6 separate regions of the Homo sapiens genome follow, and regions 1, 2, 3, 5 and 6 are each linked to region 4. Evidence: promoter capture Hi-C in 16 types of primary human blood cells and fetal thymus (Javierre and others, 2016). All regions are on one chromosome and are shown on one strand. The core of a region is centred on a gene start or on the middle of the fragment in contact, and the rest is flanking DNA. Distances in the headings are between cores, read along the strand shown. Region 1 has its middle 55 kb from the start of DEUP1. Region 2 overlaps SLC36A4 (solute carrier family 36 member 4). Region 3 overlaps SLC36A4 (solute carrier family 36 member 4). Region 4 holds the start of SMCO4 (single-pass membrane protein with coiled-coil domains 4). Region 5 has its middle 54 kb from the start of SLC36A4. Region 6 has its middle 15 kb from the start of SLC36A4.

Evidence for each region. The method cuts DNA at HindIII sites, captures the fragments that hold promoters and counts their contacts. A CHiCAGO score of 5 or more calls a contact.
Region 1: a fragment that was not itself captured here is called in contact with the fragment with the promoter of SMCO4 in region 4 in 1 of 17 cell types (monocytes); the score reaches 5.2 in monocytes.
Region 2: a fragment that was not itself captured here is called in contact with the fragment with the promoter of SMCO4 in region 4 in 1 of 17 cell types (monocytes); the score reaches 5.8 in monocytes.
Region 3: a fragment that was not itself captured here is called in contact with the fragment with the promoter of SMCO4 in region 4 in 2 of 17 cell types (monocytes and megakaryocytes); the score reaches 6.9 in monocytes.
Region 5: a contact is called between a fragment that was not itself captured here and the fragment with the promoter of SMCO4 in region 4, in 9 of 17 cell types (endothelial precursors, megakaryocytes, erythroblasts and 6 more). The highest score is 10.3, in endothelial precursors.
Region 6: a contact is called between a fragment that was not itself captured here and the fragment with the promoter of SMCO4 in region 4, in 3 of 17 cell types (monocytes, erythroblasts and endothelial precursors). The highest score is 7.6, in monocytes.

Annotation. Positions count from the first base shown.
Region 1 is chr11:93,273,922-93,276,852 of GRCh38, reverse strand. No RefSeq gene overlaps it. Among named protein-coding and RNA genes, the nearest start is that of DEUP1, 55 kb to the left of the region's middle. The HindIII fragment of the contact is 387 bases long and covers 1,122-1,508 here.
Region 2 is chr11:93,165,363-93,168,189 of GRCh38, reverse strand. SLC36A4 (solute carrier family 36 member 4) reads left to right here. Exons shown (of 11, transcript NM_152313.4): 7 at 19-246; 8 at 2,174-2,272. Among named protein-coding and RNA genes, the nearest start is that of SLC36A4, 31 kb to the left of the region's middle. The HindIII fragment of the contact is 3,601 bases long and covers 1-2,827 here.
Region 3 is chr11:93,144,761-93,147,939 of GRCh38, reverse strand. SLC36A4 (solute carrier family 36 member 4) reads left to right here. Exons shown (of 11, transcript NM_152313.4): 11 at 1-3,179. Among named protein-coding and RNA genes, the nearest start is that of SLC36A4, 52 kb to the left of the region's middle. The HindIII fragment of the contact is 607 bases long and covers 1,380-1,986 here.
Region 4 is chr11:93,542,117-93,544,904 of GRCh38, reverse strand. SMCO4 (single-pass membrane protein with coiled-coil domains 4) reads left to right here and starts at 1,514. Exons shown (of 3, transcript NM_020179.3): 1 at 1,514-1,629. RefSeq lists silencers at 1,314-1,443, 1,604-1,653, 1,784-2,023. The HindIII fragment of the contact is 4,665 bases long and covers 1-2,788 here.
Region 5 is chr11:93,250,780-93,253,787 of GRCh38, reverse strand. No RefSeq gene overlaps it. Among named protein-coding and RNA genes, the nearest start is that of SLC36A4, 54 kb to the right of the region's middle. The HindIII fragment of the contact is 4,790 bases long and covers 1-3,008 here.
Region 6 is chr11:93,211,692-93,214,552 of GRCh38, reverse strand. No RefSeq gene overlaps it. Among named protein-coding and RNA genes, the nearest start is that of SLC36A4, 15 kb to the right of the region's middle. The HindIII fragment of the contact is 761 bases long and covers 1,126-1,886 here.

The DNA of each region.
Region 1 (2,931 bases), core at 66-2,565, 270 kb after region 4:
GTATTTTTATTTACCACATGAATAAATATTTATCTGTCTTCAACAAGACAGGTTACAACTGCTATTTGAGAATCTATCATTTGCCTAAGAATCTGGGGGAAATAAAAAGAAATAAAAATTCATGGTTTTCTATTCTTAAGCTCTTGTAGATGTGGTATCAAGATATATGTCTAAGAAATGATTAGGAAACAATGGTAGATAAATCCTGGACAGTTCCTCAGGATACTATTTTACTGGCTCTTTCCTTTTACTGTCAAATAAGACAGTTTATAATAATGTATTTAATGATTTAAAGCCCAAATCTTATCACTCAGGCCTTACAATGCTATATGCTTCTCTCTTGTTGAATGCTTGTTCTAGTATCTAAGCAGACTCATACCTCCCTTTGCAGAATTGTTGCTATCTGTAAGCCTGTCTACAGCCCATCTTCATACAAAAATGGGATCTTCCTGAACAGGTAAAACACGAAGCACAAGTCATGTTCATCATCACTTTAGGAGAAAAGACGATTCCTGGTACCCCAAGTTACTAGGATTTGTGTCATGTGACCCTATTACCTGGCTGAAATAGATTGAACCAGAAATTGAGGCCAAAGGTAACTATCAACAGCTGAACATAGTAATAGTAGCTAAATATTTAATGAGCACTTACTGTGAGTCAAACACTGCTGAGATCTTCACTTGATGATTGCTTTGATTTAATCTTCACAACAGTCCTAGGAGATTGGTTACAATATTACTAAATCCATCTTAGTAATAACACACATGTAGCCACAGAGATACCCTAACAGGATTCAAACATGTGCAATAATCATTCAGTTTTAAATGCACGTGTCTCACCCAGACCATAGCATTCCAGAGGCTTAGTCATGGGTCCAGTTCATAGACTGGCAAATGGAGTTGCAGGGGCTTGAACCCTGGGTCTTTCTGTCTGCCTGATTCTCCCACCCTCCTTCTTCACCCATAGTCCATGTGGTGCCCTCCTCCTACTCTATGGCTGACTCTGCTCCACATTAAATGATTTCTCAATCAAATCTTCTCCTTGTAGAGGGTATCTTGAATGTGCCTCTTATGGAGGATGGAAGAGGCAGAAATAGAAAAGAAGTAAAGAGAGAAAAAGCTTAGGAAAGTGAGTGTTAGCAGGAACCAGGAAGGGTGAGAGGACAACCATGTTACTAGGGCTAAGGCGAGGTCACAGAGATGCTGGGGCACACTGAGTGTCCCTGATAGTCAACATTCCAGCTCTCATTAGCTTGATGGTATGACATTTCCCCACAGAAGTCACCTGAGCACATCTCTGGCCCTCACTCTTTGAGCAAAACTAACACAGAAGGGATCTTTTGTTTGGGGAAGGATCATGTTAGTAAATTAATTGCCATAGCAGAAAGTTAACTCTGACAACATTTCTAGAACCAACAACACATGGAGTGCTCTTAAGGACAAATATTATCAGCACTTCAAGAGAATTTAGGAGCTAATCTGATTGTGAGTGAGTACCTGCTAAAAGCTTACTTGAAGCAGTATCTGAGAGTGACTCTGAGAAACTTGTTAGTTTTCATCTTCTTGAAATCCTCTCCCAGCATTAAATTAGGTCATCGTTGAGTAAAGATTTAGTATTACAGTTTTTGCTCTAATGGAGAGTCATTTAAAGAACATCATTTAAAATAATAAATCCCTTTCATTTCACAGGGAGGAAAAAATCTATTTTTCCAAGTAAACAACATATGATTCCTTTCAATATAAAGATGATTTTAATAACAGAATAGCTTTTCTGTATTTTCCTAGCTGCCAGGAATCTCATAGCTACAGTATAAAGAGCAAAGGCAGCAACTAATGGATCTCAGATGCCTGGGACCATTTATATGACTGCTGTTGTCAAGATGTTTGTTTTTATTTTTTAAAAAAATGACCTGTTTTATATATTTTACTATTATAAGTTATCCCCAGACATTTTCAGAAGTGTTAGGTTGAACCATCTGAAGTTGTCATTAGTCATGTTTAACCTGCAAAATGAGCAATTCCAGTTGCTTCAATTGATAAATCAGAAATAAATACAAGATAGAGATATGTACATGGGAAAAAGTCTCAAAGGGCATATGGCAAAATTTTAACTGGGAAAGTCTGTGATGGGACTATATATGCTTTTTATTTTCTTCTCTCTGCTCTTTGTATTTTCTGAATTTTCAATTCATTCTACTCATCAATGTGGTTGCTTCTTTCTCTTTGTCTCTGTAACAGATTTTGTCTCATTATCCTGTATTGCGCCATTTAAAAAAGCATAAAGTGTGTGTGTGTGTGTGTGTGTGTGTGTGTGTGTTTCTTCTGTGAATTTCTTGAGAACAAATATTATGTCTTATTTATTTTTATACCCACTGTACCTGGCACACAGGAGGATTCAATAAATGTTTGCCTTATTGAATAATAAATGTATCCAAGTCTGGCTTAACCAAATCAAAACACAATTCATATACAACTTTTTCTGCTTTGGCTTTAGTAACCGATTTTTCTAAAAATAATTGAATAAAGTACCATAATGACTTCTTGTACTTTACATCTTCAATTCCATTAATATACTAACCTCTGGATGACATACATTCTTATATTCTATTCAGGTGACATTTATGCTTCTTTTCAGTTTATTCTGACCCAGCAGTGGCTTTTAGCATTTCATGACTATAGCCCTAAGATCATACTTGGATGTTTTCCAGGTTTCTTAAATTGAATGGAAGTTATATTCAAAGGATGGCCTTGACTCTTGTCCTCTCTGGCTTGGAATTGTTTCTTTTCATGAACTAGTATCTACCCCAATTCTGTATAGCAAATAACCTTGAGGTCATTTTGTCTCAGAGCTTTGCTCTATGTTTTACCTCAGTCAGGTTGTTCAGAGTTTACAGGATCCCTTTGAGAATGGTTCCGTGGGCCTGGATGTAAA
Region 2 (2,827 bases), core at 276-2,775, 380 kb after region 4:
CCTGGTAATCCTATGTAGGTTCATGAAGGATTCCTGGAGAGTAAAGTGTTTATTTCAAATAGTACCAATTCATCAAACCCTTGTGAGAGAAGAAGTGTTGACCTAAGGATATATATGCTTTGCTTTCTTCCATTTATAATTCTTTTGGTCTTCATTCGTGAACTAAAGAATCTATTTGTACTTTCATTCCTTGCCAACGTTTCCATGGCTGTCAGTCTTGTGATAATTTACCAGTATGTTGTCAGGGTAAGTATAAAAAGTTTTTAACTAAGTTCTTATCTTTCTTATGTAAGTAAAATTTTGTTTACTGTGGAGGTAAAAGTAATGATATGCAAAGACCCCTACTTCATATGTGGCACACAGTGTGCAATCAGTAAATGTTGGTTTCTTTTAGGGGGATGCTGCTGAGTTAGAAAAGTATATGACATAGAGATTAAACAGGCTTTGTGGTCAGATCTTGAATCTTGGTAAATAACGCCTCTGGGCTTTGTGACAGTGCTTCAGAAGATAGTAATGCCTACCCTATTAGAGTTATGAGACTTAGGATTGTGTTCTTAGTACAGTGCCAAACATGAAACCAGGTACTCATTAATATATATATATGCAATTCCATAATTTCCTTTCACTTCTGAACTTTTATTTGCTGCCACTGCTTCAGTCCACTGCCACTACACTAGTCTGTAATCCCTTTACCTGAAGTATATGCAATAACATCAACTGATTTCATTGTCCATAGTCTGGGGATTCTTAACCCAGTTTCCATAAAATAATCTATTGATGGGATTCAGGGATTCTTCAAATCCCTTAAAATAGTTTGCAAGATTTAGTATTTCTGTATGTATGTATGTGTTTTGCTGTTGAGCAGTTGTATAGCTTTCATCTTGCAAAGGTGTCAAAGACACAAAAAAGGTTGAGAATCCCTGTTCTAGTCACTCCTGATCTAATTAATCTTATATATTATTTCCAAGGTAATTGTTGTAAAATCTTCATTAGCAATTTATTAAAAATTCTTATTATGGATCTGTGTTTCATTTCCCTCCTCTTTGATTTTCAAAAGTTGTAGTTTCTCTTATAGCACTGAGTGGGAGGAAACAGACAGGAAGTTCATATAGGCTTTCCGGAGTTCATGACCCCTTAGCTAAACATGTAAGAGTCAGTTAAGCAGAAAAGGAGGTTTCCAAAATAGAAGGAACAGCGTGAGCTGCTGTTGGGAGAAGTGAAATAGCATCCTGCTTGCCTTAAATAATAGTTTAGCATTGAATGAGCCAAACATTGTAATACCCTTTCATTCTAAACCCAGTATATGGTTTTAGACATGTATCACCAGTATATCACACAGTTCTATCTATGCTTCAGATATTCTAGATCTCTCTATTCCCCAAATTATCCTAGAGCTTTCACACTTCAGTTGCTTTGTTCATTCTTTTTACTTGGCCTTGAATTCTGCTTCCAATCAGGCAAAGCAGAGAATGTAAGATGGTGAGAAGAGTAGGGACCAGACTTGGGGTATCTGGAAGAAGTGGCCATTTAGAGCCAATGTGTACTTTGTCCGGATGGTGAGATTTGGAATAAGCCTGTGAGTCAGGACCAAGCAATCAAAGCCAGAGTCAGGACATATATATTCAAATAATAAGGGTAATGACAACCATCAAATCAAATAGTAAGCACTGAAGCAAGAAGGAAACCTGTTTTGGGCAGCAGCAGAGCTATAAGGTAGAAAGCCAGTGTCAGGAACCAGGTATCTTAGAGAACTGAAAGAGCAATAAAAATAGAGTGGAGAATGAATTTCTGCTAGGCACCAGCAGCAGTGGTTGATAACTTGACTATATGGCTCTCAGCTTAGGCCTTGAGTGTGCTTATGTATTTCCTGTTGTGGCAGGAGCCATACCTAGTGTTCACAGCCTGGGACTTGCAGGTGGAAGCAGGTAATCAGGAGCATTTTGCTCAGATGGAATGTATGGGCATGAGGGAAACAATTGCTTTTGGCAGTGAAATCCTAACAGCTTGGCTACATTTAACAGAGGATGCTTTAAGTGTTTGTTGAAACAATTATTCAATTTTATAACACATTTGCTGTTGTGAAGCTCAAAATTATATGATTTTTCTTACATTTTTTAATTATTTAGAATAAGTAAAGATGTAACTGGTCTTCTTTTTTTCTTCCTTTCTTTAGAACATGCCAGATCCCCACAACCTTCCAATAGTGGCTGGTTGGAAGAAATACCCACTCTTTTTTGGTACTGCTGTATTTGCTTTTGAAGGCATAGGAGTGGTAAGAATTTAGTCTTTATTATTATTTTTTAAAATCTTAATTCAGCACAATGATTTATATAGCCTACCTGTATTTAAAATTGCATATTTTTCTTTTTTATTTCAATTTTCTTTACATGATTTCCAATTTGGTGTGATAGATTAGAATTATAGTTTAGTCCTTCCATTAACAAAGAACTTAATGTTAGACATACCACTTAGGCTCTCTACTTCTCTTTTTATTTATCTATAAAATGAAGAAATTAGCCAGATCATTTTTAACATTTTATTATGGAAAATTTCAAACCTATACAAAATTTAGAGAGTAGTATAATGAACTATGTAAACATCACCTGGCTTCAAAAATTATTAACTCAAGGCCAGTTTAAAAAAAATCTATATCCCACATACTCAGGCACATCTGAAGCATATTTTATAGATGAGATTATCTGAAGGTAATCAGAATAGTTGCAGAATCACTGCTATATAAAAAGTTGGATGTAAATTCTCCCTATAGTTTTATGAATATAATGTTTGTTTTGAGAAACAGTGTTATAAAGCTAATACCAAGAGAGAC
Region 3 (3,179 bases), core at 434-2,933, 400 kb after region 4:
TGATCTTCATAGTCAAGAGGCACTGTTCAAGATCATGACTTAGTGTTTCAATGAAATTTGAAAAGGGACTTTAAAACTTATCCAGTGCAACTCCCTTGTTTTTCGTCAGAGGAAAAGGAGGCCTAGAAAGGTTAAGTAACTTGGTCGAGACCACTCAGCCTTGAGATCAAGAAAACCTAATCTTCTGACTCCCAGGCCAGGATGTTTTATTTCTCACATCATGTCCAAGAAAAAGAATAAATTATGTTCAGCTTAATTTTAGTGTTGAATCTATTTGATTATATTTTAATACTTTGAAAATGAATGTGTGATTTTTAATAGTATATGTGACCTGAGCAGAAAATCAGGGAACTCCAAGAAGCCTACACTGTGGCCATATAAACCTCAGCAAGAGAAAGAAGCTATGTTCTTTTAAAACAGAATAGAGACCGCTTGCTGGTGAAACTCCTGGCTAGTAAGATGTGTGTCTAGCTATACTATTTGTGGCTTGAGCTTTTTTAATTATTACCTTCCTTTCCTGAGTTTTGTAGGCACCACATTCCTGAATGGCAGAAAATAGACACCTCAGAAAACGGAGGATTTGTGGACTCTTTCCAGCCCTGTGGCTTTTCTTATCACAGCCTTTTATTTATTATGAGCAGAATAAAAGAATCAGCTAGGTGTGGTGGTCTGTGCTTATAATCCCAGCTACTCTGGAGGATAAGTTGGGAGGATCACTTGAGAGGCCAGGAGCTTGAGACCAGCCTGGGCAGCATAGTGAGACCTCGACTCTATAAAACATAAAAATTTAAAAAAAAATTAGCCTGATGTGGCGTGTACCTGTAGTCCCAGCTACTGAGGAGGCTGAAGCAGGAGGATCCCTCGAGCACAAAAGTTTCAGGCTGTGGTAAGCTATGACTGTGCCACTGCACACCAGCCTGAGTTACAGAGGGAGATCCCAACTCTTAAAAACTAAAACAACAATAAATATATACAAGAATCATAACATAAAGGGATTCATGCTTAGAAAAAATCCATAAACTCCCTTCTAAATATTGAGACACTCCAGGCTTCTTTCAGACAAATAACTTCTAATTATTCCATATTTTTCAAGTTATTAACCAAGATAAAGAATCTCTCAGTTAGTGGGGAAAATGAAAATTATTAAGAATAGAATTGTCTTCTGACTTTAAAAACAATTTAGACTTTAAAACATGAACTGTTTACTCAGGCTGGTGATACTCTAGTTTGTTAGTATACCATACTTGAAGATATCATCAAGATCACTATAGTTGTATATATTCTCTATTTTTATATGTAAATGTTAACTTAGTTCAAGTATTTTTTGCTTGTATCGTTAACTGATCATCAAATACAATCCTAAAGATATATCAGAAGCTTTATTTTGGTACAAAGTCATAAGAATCAAAACTTTTTTAACCATTCACATTAGGTATCAACAGTAATTGTTTGAGATACTTTTATATCAATTCTGTTACACTGAGCCTTTAGTCATACTAAGAGAATGCAGAAGAAGTTATAGGAAAACGAATCTTCACTGAAACTAGTATTATATAATCTTGAATTAGATGTTTAAAAAACTTTATAGCTTGATATAAAATGAGTTGAAAATTATTATTTAATAGGAAGCAGCATTAGATTTTTGTCACCTGTTTTCAGATAATATTTCTAGTCTATGTATGTTATTTAATTTTTACACTTTGGCCCATTGTTTATTTTCCTTAAGGAATTCATCAAATGCAATGAAATTTGAATAAAATTGATCATAGCAATAAATAATTTTTAAATTCAGCACAAACTCATCTTGAGTATATTATCAATCAGGCTTCCTTTAGCAATAAGAATGGTGAATCAACATCCAGTACTAAATTCAATAAATGATGAATACTTTAAATACAAGAAAAAGTTGAATTGCAGAAAAGAAGAGGGGCTAAAAAGGAAGAAAGTTTTAATTCTCAACAAGAAACACTATTTAGATGGAAAGCTTAAATGTATTCTTATTAAGGGTATTTGATGATGCATTTTATTTGCAAAAATAACCAGTGGGTAATTTTTTCTCTGAAAATTTAGCTTTAATAAGTCGTAAAATTTCCTAAAGATTTTGGAGACGATATTTCGATTATACCAGCTCTTGCTTTTATTTTGGGAGCCTGGAGAAATGAGAGTGATTGCACCTGTCAAATTTTGTATCTCATCACTTTTGGATCATCACACTGTGACTAAAATGACTTCAGCATTTTGTTGGCCACCACAGTGAAGAACTATTCCCTGAAAGTTAATCAGTTGCCTGAGAGACTTTTCTGCTACTGAGGGGAAAGAAAGGAAAGCTTTATTTACCTCTAATGAGCTCCGTTCCAAGTCAGTTAATCACTGTTCCCTTACACCCAAGAGTTTCATCAGTATCAGAGTCAACTTGTCAAAACACTGGTTCTCAGACGTTTTTTTCAGAGGGACTTCTTTTCCCCACATGGCCAGATTTCTTTACAATTAAGAAAATAAGAGCTACAGCGTATTCTTGGTTAAAAACCAGTTTAGATGATGTTACCAAATGAAAACAAGTCTGTATTAGCAAATGCCACATTATATTTAGTCGTATTCTCACTAAATTCTCCGTTATTAAAATGATTTCTGCATCTTGCCTGGAAAATGCACTTACATATTTACAAGCGTTGTATGTCAATGTGCATGTTTTGAATTTCCTAACAGTGTCTAATCTTAGTAGTTTCATAGTAGTTATGTAAAATCTCTTTAACTGCAAAATACTATAAAATATTACTTGAAATATTAAAGTATTAGTGCCATTTCTAGCTGTGGCAAGGCACAAGTCTTACTATAGCTTACTTATGTCTTCTCATAGATTTCAGTACAGCATCTGAGTAGTGGATCTGTTTACTGACAGTATACACAAACTAGGTCTTGACCTCACTTCTTTCTTCATTTAAAAGGAGAAGATTTGAAATAGAGCTAGTGTAAATAATAAATAAAATTATTTAAATAGCATCAGTGGCTCAATACCATCTGTTGAGGAATAAAATAATTTGGTTAACATACAGAACATCGATAATATACAATAATGACTTTTTAAAAAATGAGTCTGATCTTTTTGGCTCACCTAGCTTCCCTTAATAAGAAAATTTGAGAAACTTGGATCTGAAAAGTGTAGTTGTACTTCCTAACAT
Region 4 (2,788 bases), core at 265-2,764:
CCTTAAATACATGCTAAATAAACTGATCAATAGTTGCCTTTTATTAAATATCTTTGTGTTTCAGGTATTTCCTTATTTCCTTCACAGACCGGATCATGAATGATCTCCCAATGTGACAAGGTCTTATTCTCCACAGTTTACCGTTGAGGGGACTGAGGTGCAGAAAGCCCAAGGTGTATGCAGCCCAATCCCCTCTGATCCCACTCTACTGCATTGCTGCCTTTTGTACGCAGCAGGAAGGACACTTCCTGTAAAAATGAAAAAAAAAGCCTTAAGTTGTTTGAGAGAGGGTCAGGAAGAAAACAGGAAGAGCCAGTAGACTGCAGGTGCTTTCAAAGGGCTCCCTGTCTTTGACATCCCTAAAATAAAAACTTGTTAATTAAGAGATTGGCCACAGAAATCCAGGTGGAAAACCTGCAGAAGAGTGGGTTCCACAATTCTTCAAAACAGAACAAAAAAACCCCAAGACTTGTTATATTTTTACCGGTGGAGGGGAAGAGGTTACAGGAGTGGCCTTGCTCCCCGGGCTGGCCTTGCTGAGCAGGTGACAATACCACACATATAAAGGTTTTAAGGTGAAAAGGTAGTCAATATTTTACATTTCGAAGATAGTTTTTAAAATCACCTACTGCATCAGTAGTAATACAACAATAACTACCATTTACATACCACCGCACACATCGGGGCTGCGTAAAGAACTTTATAGTGCACCATCTCAATTAATTCTCACAACTCTGTGAAGTAGGTTTTATTATTCTTAATTTATAGACGTGTTCACTGTGGGCCAGGGAGATGAGCTTTCCCGCGATTGCCCAGCTTTTAAGAGGTAGATCTCAAACCTAAACGTGTTTGACCAAAAGCCCTGAATAACATTTAGCCGTGGGCCTCTTGCGGATTTGGCGCTGGTCCGAGGTGGGGAATTGTGAATCTCATTTATTTATGCTGAGCTGCGCACACATATGCACGTGTAAGTTACAAAAAACAAATCCAGGTCAGGATCTCTGTCCGCTTGAGGTTTCAAAGCCTACTTGGGTAGACAGCGGTAAAAGTCTCAACTCATTCATCTACTCGTTTGCTCTCTTCACAAGTATTTATTGCGCACTTCAGTATTCCAGACAGGGCGCTAACCTTGCCCTGGAGGAGAGAATGGTGAACACAACAGACATGGCGTTTGCCTCCAACTATCCCCTTTCCGATTCTGCTATCTCACGGGCGAGGCGTTCAAAGAAGCAGGAAATATATCAACAAGGGGGTGACTTAAGCACCCGCTGCGCGGGAGCCGGAGGAAGCGCGCTGAGCCTGCAGAGGTGGTCAGGGCGAACTTCCTGGAGGCAGCGGCAGCAGCAGGCCGGGCGAGAACCCAGGTCGCTCGGAAGCGACAGTCTGAGCCGGGAACGGGGAAGAGGGGGCGGGAGCCGAGGCCCGGGCGGGGGCAGCCAGCGAGTTAGGGTTAGGACGGGAGGATTCGGCTTCCCGGCGGCAGAGGGCGCCTGGCGCTGCGGTCTGGCGCGCCAGAGTCGCCCGCGCGGGCGCCGAGAGGAGAGGCGAGGCGGGGAGCGCAAGCGGCGGCGGCCACTGCCACGTATTCCCGGCAGTGGTGGCGGCGGCGGCGGCGGCGCCCGCGGGCAGGTGGGCTGGGAGCGGCGCGGCGGCGGCGGCGGCGGGGCGGGCGAGCCGGCGGGCGGGCGCGGGGCACGGGGCACCGGGCACCGGGCGGGGGTGCGGCGCCGGGACAGTACGGTTCCCGCCACGCCGGCTCCGCCTCCGCGCAGTGCTGCTGACCCAGGCCTGGGCGCCCGGCGGGTCCCGAGCGCAACTCGTGCGGGCGGGGTTGGGGGCCCGAGGGACTCGAGCTCGCCTGCCCGTCGCGGCTCGAGACGCTGCATCCCGGTTGCTGCGGGGCGGGGGCTGGGAAAAGTTGGGGCGGACCGCGAGCCCGCGGGGCCGGGCGGGAAGTGCGGGTGCGGGGCGGACTCAGGGGCCGGGGGACGCAGTGCAAAGGGCTTGGGCCGGGGCGGCCGGGAGGGCCCCGTATGGGAAGGTGGGAAACGCGGGTCCTTTGAGGACGCCGAGAAAGGGGTGCGCTCAGGGTCTCTGGGAGTGGACAAGAGTCCGGCGGCGGACCTTGCGGGTGAGAAGGGTCGGCGCCTGGGGGTCGGGGAGTAGAGGTGAGGCGGGGGCGGGATAGAGCCTTCCTCCTCCCCCGTTCTTTCGGGACCGACCCTGAGACCCGGGGCAGGCTCCGAGCTGGGTACGCCTCTGGCATCTGAAGACCCAGTGGGGAGTTCCTGTACGGGGTGGGTGGAGGAGGGAGCTGAGCGTTGCTTCCTCTGCTGCTGGGGCCGACTACCGCCCCTCCCCAGCGGCCAGATTCACCTCAGACTGCAGTGCTTTTGCCCTGAGGAAGTTGAGGAGGGACAGCTGAGCGGATGAGATGTTTGGGGTGTTCCAAGATGAGTGGGATTAGGCTGCATGATATCATAACTATCTCCGGGAGCTGTCAGAAAACACTCCCATGTCCTCATACACCCACCCATCCACTCATCCAGTCAGTACTGCCAAGCTCCAGGCTCCCTTGCTCTTTAAGTGACACCTCTAGATCCCCAGAGCCCAACAGCGCATCTGCTCACAGCCTCGAGGGTGGCAAGGGTGGAAGACATGGCCTGCTAGTGTCTGCGTAGGTTGGTGCTTTCAGAAACAAGTGGTTCTGGAGGTGCTGGATGCTTTATTAGAACAACCTGTGTGGAGCCCGTTGACAATGCAGATGACTCATGTTGGCTTTTTTTTT
Region 5 (3,008 bases), core at 493-2,992, 290 kb after region 4:
TAATCGTTTGGTGCTTACTTTTCAGTGAATATTATAATGCTAGATTCATCCATATTTTTTGCATTTCATTGTAGTTTCATTCAGTCCAACTGCTATATTCTGTTGCTGAATATAACAATGTTCTATTATATGAATATTCATCTATTTTTCTCTTAATGGACACCTGTACTGCTTCAAAGTTTCAATATGTGAACAATGCTGCTATATGAATATTCTTTCATATTGTCAGCCTAAATAACAAACAAGAAGAGGCTCTCTAAAAGAAAATATGTTTGTTTGGGAATATAGTATTGCAATGGGAATACGTATGTCATAGTGAACAATGTGTATATTCAGGGAGGTAAAGGAAGACAAAGGTTTTTAAAGGGAAAAAATGAGGAAGATTACATAACTGTTTTGAAATAATTATTCTTAGCTACAAAGATTAATAGCAAGACTGACATCAGTCCAAGGTTGAATAAGCCATTGCCAGGCAGATGTCCTTGCAGAAGTATTTTTGATCTAAGATTGCAATGGCTTTTGTGCAATGCTGTAGTTTTTGTGGAGTCTTTTTCATTGTTAGGCATACAATCATGAGAATCTTCTCTTCATGGCCTTCTCTGGCTATATGTGTCAGAGTTTTCTTAACATTAGTGACTACACTTTGATTCTGATAACTTTCACAATATATACTAGAGTTTGTAAAGGAGTGTTTACCAAAGATGAAATTGCTGGCTAATGGGATTTTTTTAGTTAGGATCAGAGTTCTGCACATTTAAGATACTCAAAAATACATAATCTTTAGCCAAGTCAGGTTTAAAAGTAGTAAACTAACATAATAATTAAAAAATATAAAGTAGAACAGCCATACTAATTTACATTCCCACAAACAGTGTGTGAGCATTCTCCTTTCTCCACATCCTTGCCAGCATTTTCTGTCTTTTTGGTAATAGCTATTTTAACTGTATCTCACTATGGTTTTGATTTGCATTTCCCTGATGATTAGGCTGAATGGATAAAAAATGCTATATATACACAATAAAATATTATTAAGTCATAAAATGAATGAAATCCTATCATTTGCAGCAACATGGATGAAACTGGAAGACATTATGTTAAGTTAAATAAGTGAAGCACAGAAAGACAAATATTCCATGTTCTCACTCATATGTGGGAGTGGTCTTGGGGAGGTGGAGAGTAGAGTGGTGGTTACTAGAGTCTGGGAAGGGTAGGAAAAATAGGGAATTAAGAGATGTTGGTTAATGGATACAAAAATACAGTTAGATAGGAGGAAGAAGTACCCGTGTTCAATGGCACACACAGTAGGGAGACTATAGTTAAAAACAATTAATTGTATAATTCAAAATAGCTAGAAGAGAATCTTTGGAACATTCTAAACACAAAGAAATGATCATTATTTGAGGTGATGAATAACCCAGTTACCCTGATTTGGTCATTACACATTGTTCACATGTATCAAAATATCACACATACCCTATAAATATGTGCAACCATTATATATCAATAAAAAGTGAAATTTAAGACTTACAGTTTTTTCTCCAAGAGCCTGTAATTCCTTTTAGAGAAAGAAGTCAAAGTTTATCTTTGAAATCTTATCACTCCCTTAGCCACTGAAGCACAAAGGTCCTCTGGCATGCTGTGATGATCATTTGCTGTGTAAGAGCAGTCCTCCTGCCTCCTGTTGGTGAGGGTGAATTACCTCCAGGCTGGCAACTCCTTATCTTGCCTACTGGCCTTAGCAAAGGAGCCTGAAGAGAGTAGGTGACATCCATAGCTTGAACTTCATTGGCACTCTTGTTCGTTCCATGGTGGAAACATTTTACATCTGGGAATCAGAACTTGTAGTCATGTAGAGCCTAGAGTTGTGGAAATGGAAGAATAAATTATCCATGTGGGTCACGAGGAGTGATGATAAGTGGACTACTTTTGTCGCCCTTCCTTGTTTTTTGGACCCATGCGGTCTGCATATTGGAGATATAACACTGTATAATAGTCACTGGTTTAGGGTATATACTGGGCCCTAAGGATGGAGCCCTATACGCATACAGCATCATCTCTAATCTAGTGCCTAATTGTGCCTTCAAAGAGCAATTCTGTTGCTGTATCAGGCCAACATCTTCTGGGTGCGGCAATATGAAATAGGACCAATAGGTCCCATGATATATATCCCTTTATTATACAATGGGTCCCTTGGTCAATTGCAACATTATTTAGGAGCCCATGTCAACAGGTCAGTTCACTCCATGCCCTCAGATAGTGGTGCTTGCTGAAGCCAAGCAGGCAGGAAGGGTAACCCCATTCCAAGAATATATGTCAACCAGTGCTACTTGGTTGAGTTTGTAGTAATCTGCTTTCATTCTCCAGGATCTGTTTGTTTTTTATAGGGACCAGACTAGTGAATTAAATGAATGAGGATATGATGGAGAGCTCTGTATCCTGTAGGTCTTTAAGGGTAGCACTAATCTCTGCCATTCCCCTCATCAACTGATATTGTTTTGATTTTACAATCTTAGGTGGGGAGAAAGGAAGTTTCAAAGGCTCCTATTTGGCTTTCCCCACCACAATAGCTGTTACCTCACAGAGAAAAGAACAAATGTGAAGGTTCAAGCAATTACCAAGGATACTAATTTCAATTCTATATTCAGGGACTGGGGAAATGACCACTGGGTGGGTCCATGGAGCCAGTGAACACACAATGAACGAGGACCTGGAGCATGACTCCATTTATACTTTATCCCCTTATGACCCCATCTAATGAAGGAGCCATGGTGTTATAGTTGCAACAGAGGCTTCAGTGGATCATATGGGTATCAGTGTCAACATAGATTCAGTGTTCAACAATCTTTGAAACATCTGGATATTGTCCTTTCAGTATATGACTAAATGGCTATAGGTCACTTTGAGGAAGGGCTGAGAGACTGATTACCTTCATATACTTGCCATAGTGTTGCAAGTTTTTTCCTTATGGGGACTTGGTCTCTCTTTCATTCAGTAGGTTCCTTGACTGA
Region 6 (2,861 bases), core at 257-2,756, 330 kb after region 4:
AATGGAGATAAGGTCAAACTTGTTAGATTGTAAATAGCCTCTTGACATAAGTAATGGAACCCAAAGACCTAAATAGAGGATGGATGGATTAGTATCCATTTATAATACACAAAATGAACTGTTCTTGGTCAATTTCTCACTTCTTTGACTTAATACAATGGCCTATTATTAAGTAATCAATCATTGATCTAATTTATTATACAATGAATGCAGTCTATTGAGAAAGTCAGATCAAAATGCTTAGCTGTTTTATGAGGGAAAAATCAGATGAGGAACAATTGTGTGTTATCACTAAAAAACAAAATTAACAGGAACAGTATCCTATAAATGAAGCATAATGTGATTGGCTACCAGCCTGGTCTTAAAGAAAATGGGTTGGTGACATTTTCTTAAATGGTACCTTTTTCCAAGGACCTCTTATCTCAAAATCTTCTGAGGGCATGGGCTAGAATGCAGTCCTCCAACTGGAACTTCTCCTTTTTCCTGAATGGAAGCTTTCTAACTTCCATGCCACTTATTTTTATTACCAAAAAGCACATATATGTTGGTGTTTATTTTCTCTGATCAGTTCTATGGGGAATCTATATCTCTTAAGCAGATTTCCCAAATGAGTATGGAACTATTCTTTCCCAATGTGGTTGGTATTGTCAACAAGGTTATTAAATTGTGAGCAAGCTCCTTGAATAATCATGAAAAGTGTCCCAGGTAGCAGGAATTCCAGGATTCCTCATGCATAACATGTGTCTCAGGTGACCTACTTACCACAAGTAAGTCTTTCACACACTCCTTTTGAACTGTGATGAAAGTAAACTATACAAAAACTGACAGGTACAGCCTGTCAAATTAAATCCCAAACTAGACCTTGATGTTAAAATCCTGAAATAGAGAGGACTTATCAAGTTAAATTTACATGTGAGGATCATGAGTCCTTAGCATCAAGAGAAAACCCAGACTTTTGTACTCGGCATGATAATAGTTTTATTTGAAGACAACACAAGTGAAATAATTTCCTTGCAAGTTAATGTCTAACCAATACATAATGCTTAGAATGGAAAGAAGCAAATTTCGTAAAGCACCCTTTTTCTTTTGAGCCTTCGGGAGTACACTTGAGATTTATTATAAGCTTTAAAGCCTTTTACCAGTCATGTTAAATACCAAAGGGAATAACTTACATGTGGGAAAATAAAAGTGTCCTTTCCAGCACTCACCATAAGTCACTTTTTTTTTTTTTTTTTTTGTGAGACGGAGTCTCGCTCTGTCCCTCAGGCTGGAGTGCAGTGGCATGATTTCAGCTCACTGCAACCTCTGCCTCCCAGGTTCAAGCGATTCTCCTGCCTCAGCCTCCTGAGTAGCTGGGACTACAGGCGCATGCCACTATGGCTAATTTTTTGTGTTTTTGGTAGAGACAGGGTTTCACCGTGTTAGCCAGGATGGTCTCAATCTCCTGACTTCGTGATCCACCCACCTCGGCCTCCCAAAGTGCTGAGATTATAGGCGTAAGCCATTGTGCCCGGCCAAGTCACTTTTTTATTGTCCTTCAAAGAGTAGTATTTTCAGAAGACAATGCTTAATATGTTGGTTGTGGCATTTATGTTGGAATTAACCGCCATCAGTGAAGCTCAGTTACCTGATTTCAGGCTGATCTTCTGAATCTTTCATTAGCTATATGAAAATGGATAGACAGAAATGTACAATGTTGTAATGACTAAATCACACCACTGACCAATGGTCAGAACTGTGAGTGGCTCTCACAACCTGTCAGCTTAGCTGCTTAGGATCTCAAGAAGCTATGAGGCAGAGTGGATAATAGTATATGTCCTAAAGTTGAAATTAGATTTGGTTTTGATCTGTGAAATTTTGGGTAAGTCTCTGAGTCTGTCTAAGCTTGTCTTTTCTTTCTTTCCATTTCTAATTTTACTGAGGCATAATTGATGAAAACTATATATATTTACAGTGTCCAATATGATCTTTTGTTATATGCATACATTGTGAAAATGATGACCAATATTAAGCTAATGAACATATCCCTCACCTTGCATAGTTATCTTTATTGCTGAATGTGTGGAGAGAACATTTAAGATCTACTCTCAGCAAATTTCAAGTATAAACTCGAGAATTATTACCTGCAGTCATCATGCTGCATAACTGAGACTTTGTACTCTTTCACCAATATCTCCCTATTTCCTCCACCCCCAGCTCTTAGCAACTACCGTTCTACTCTCTGCATCTATGAGTTCAACTTCTTAAGATCCCAATGTAAGTAAGATGATGCAGCATTTTTCTTCTATGCCTGGCTTATTTCACTTAGCAAAGTGGCCTCTAGGTTCATTCATATTGTTAGAAATGACGGGATTTCATTCTTTTTTAAGGCTGAATAAAATACCATTGTGTGTACATATACATATTATATACCACGTTTTCTTTATCCATTTACCCATCAATGGACACATCTTATTATTGTGAATAATGCTGGAAGGAACATGACAGTACAGCTATTTCTTCTATATACTGATTTAATTTCTTTTGGATATATGCCCAACAGTGGGGCTGCGGCATCATGTGCTAGTTCTGTTTTTAAGTTTAATTTTTAATATCTTAGTTTCACTGATCTTTTCTGTTGTTCTTTTCAGCTTCTATTTCATTTATTTTTGCTCTGATCTTTGCTGTTTCCTTCTTTCTACTGAATTTAGGCTTTGTTCTTTTTCTATTTCCTTGAGGTATAAAGTTAGGTTGTTTATTTGAGATCTTTTTCTTAATCTAGGCATTTATTGTTATAAACCTCACTCTTAGAAATGCTTCTGGTGTGTCCAATAAATTTTGGTATGCTGTGTTTCCATTTTTGTTTGTCTCAAGATATCTTA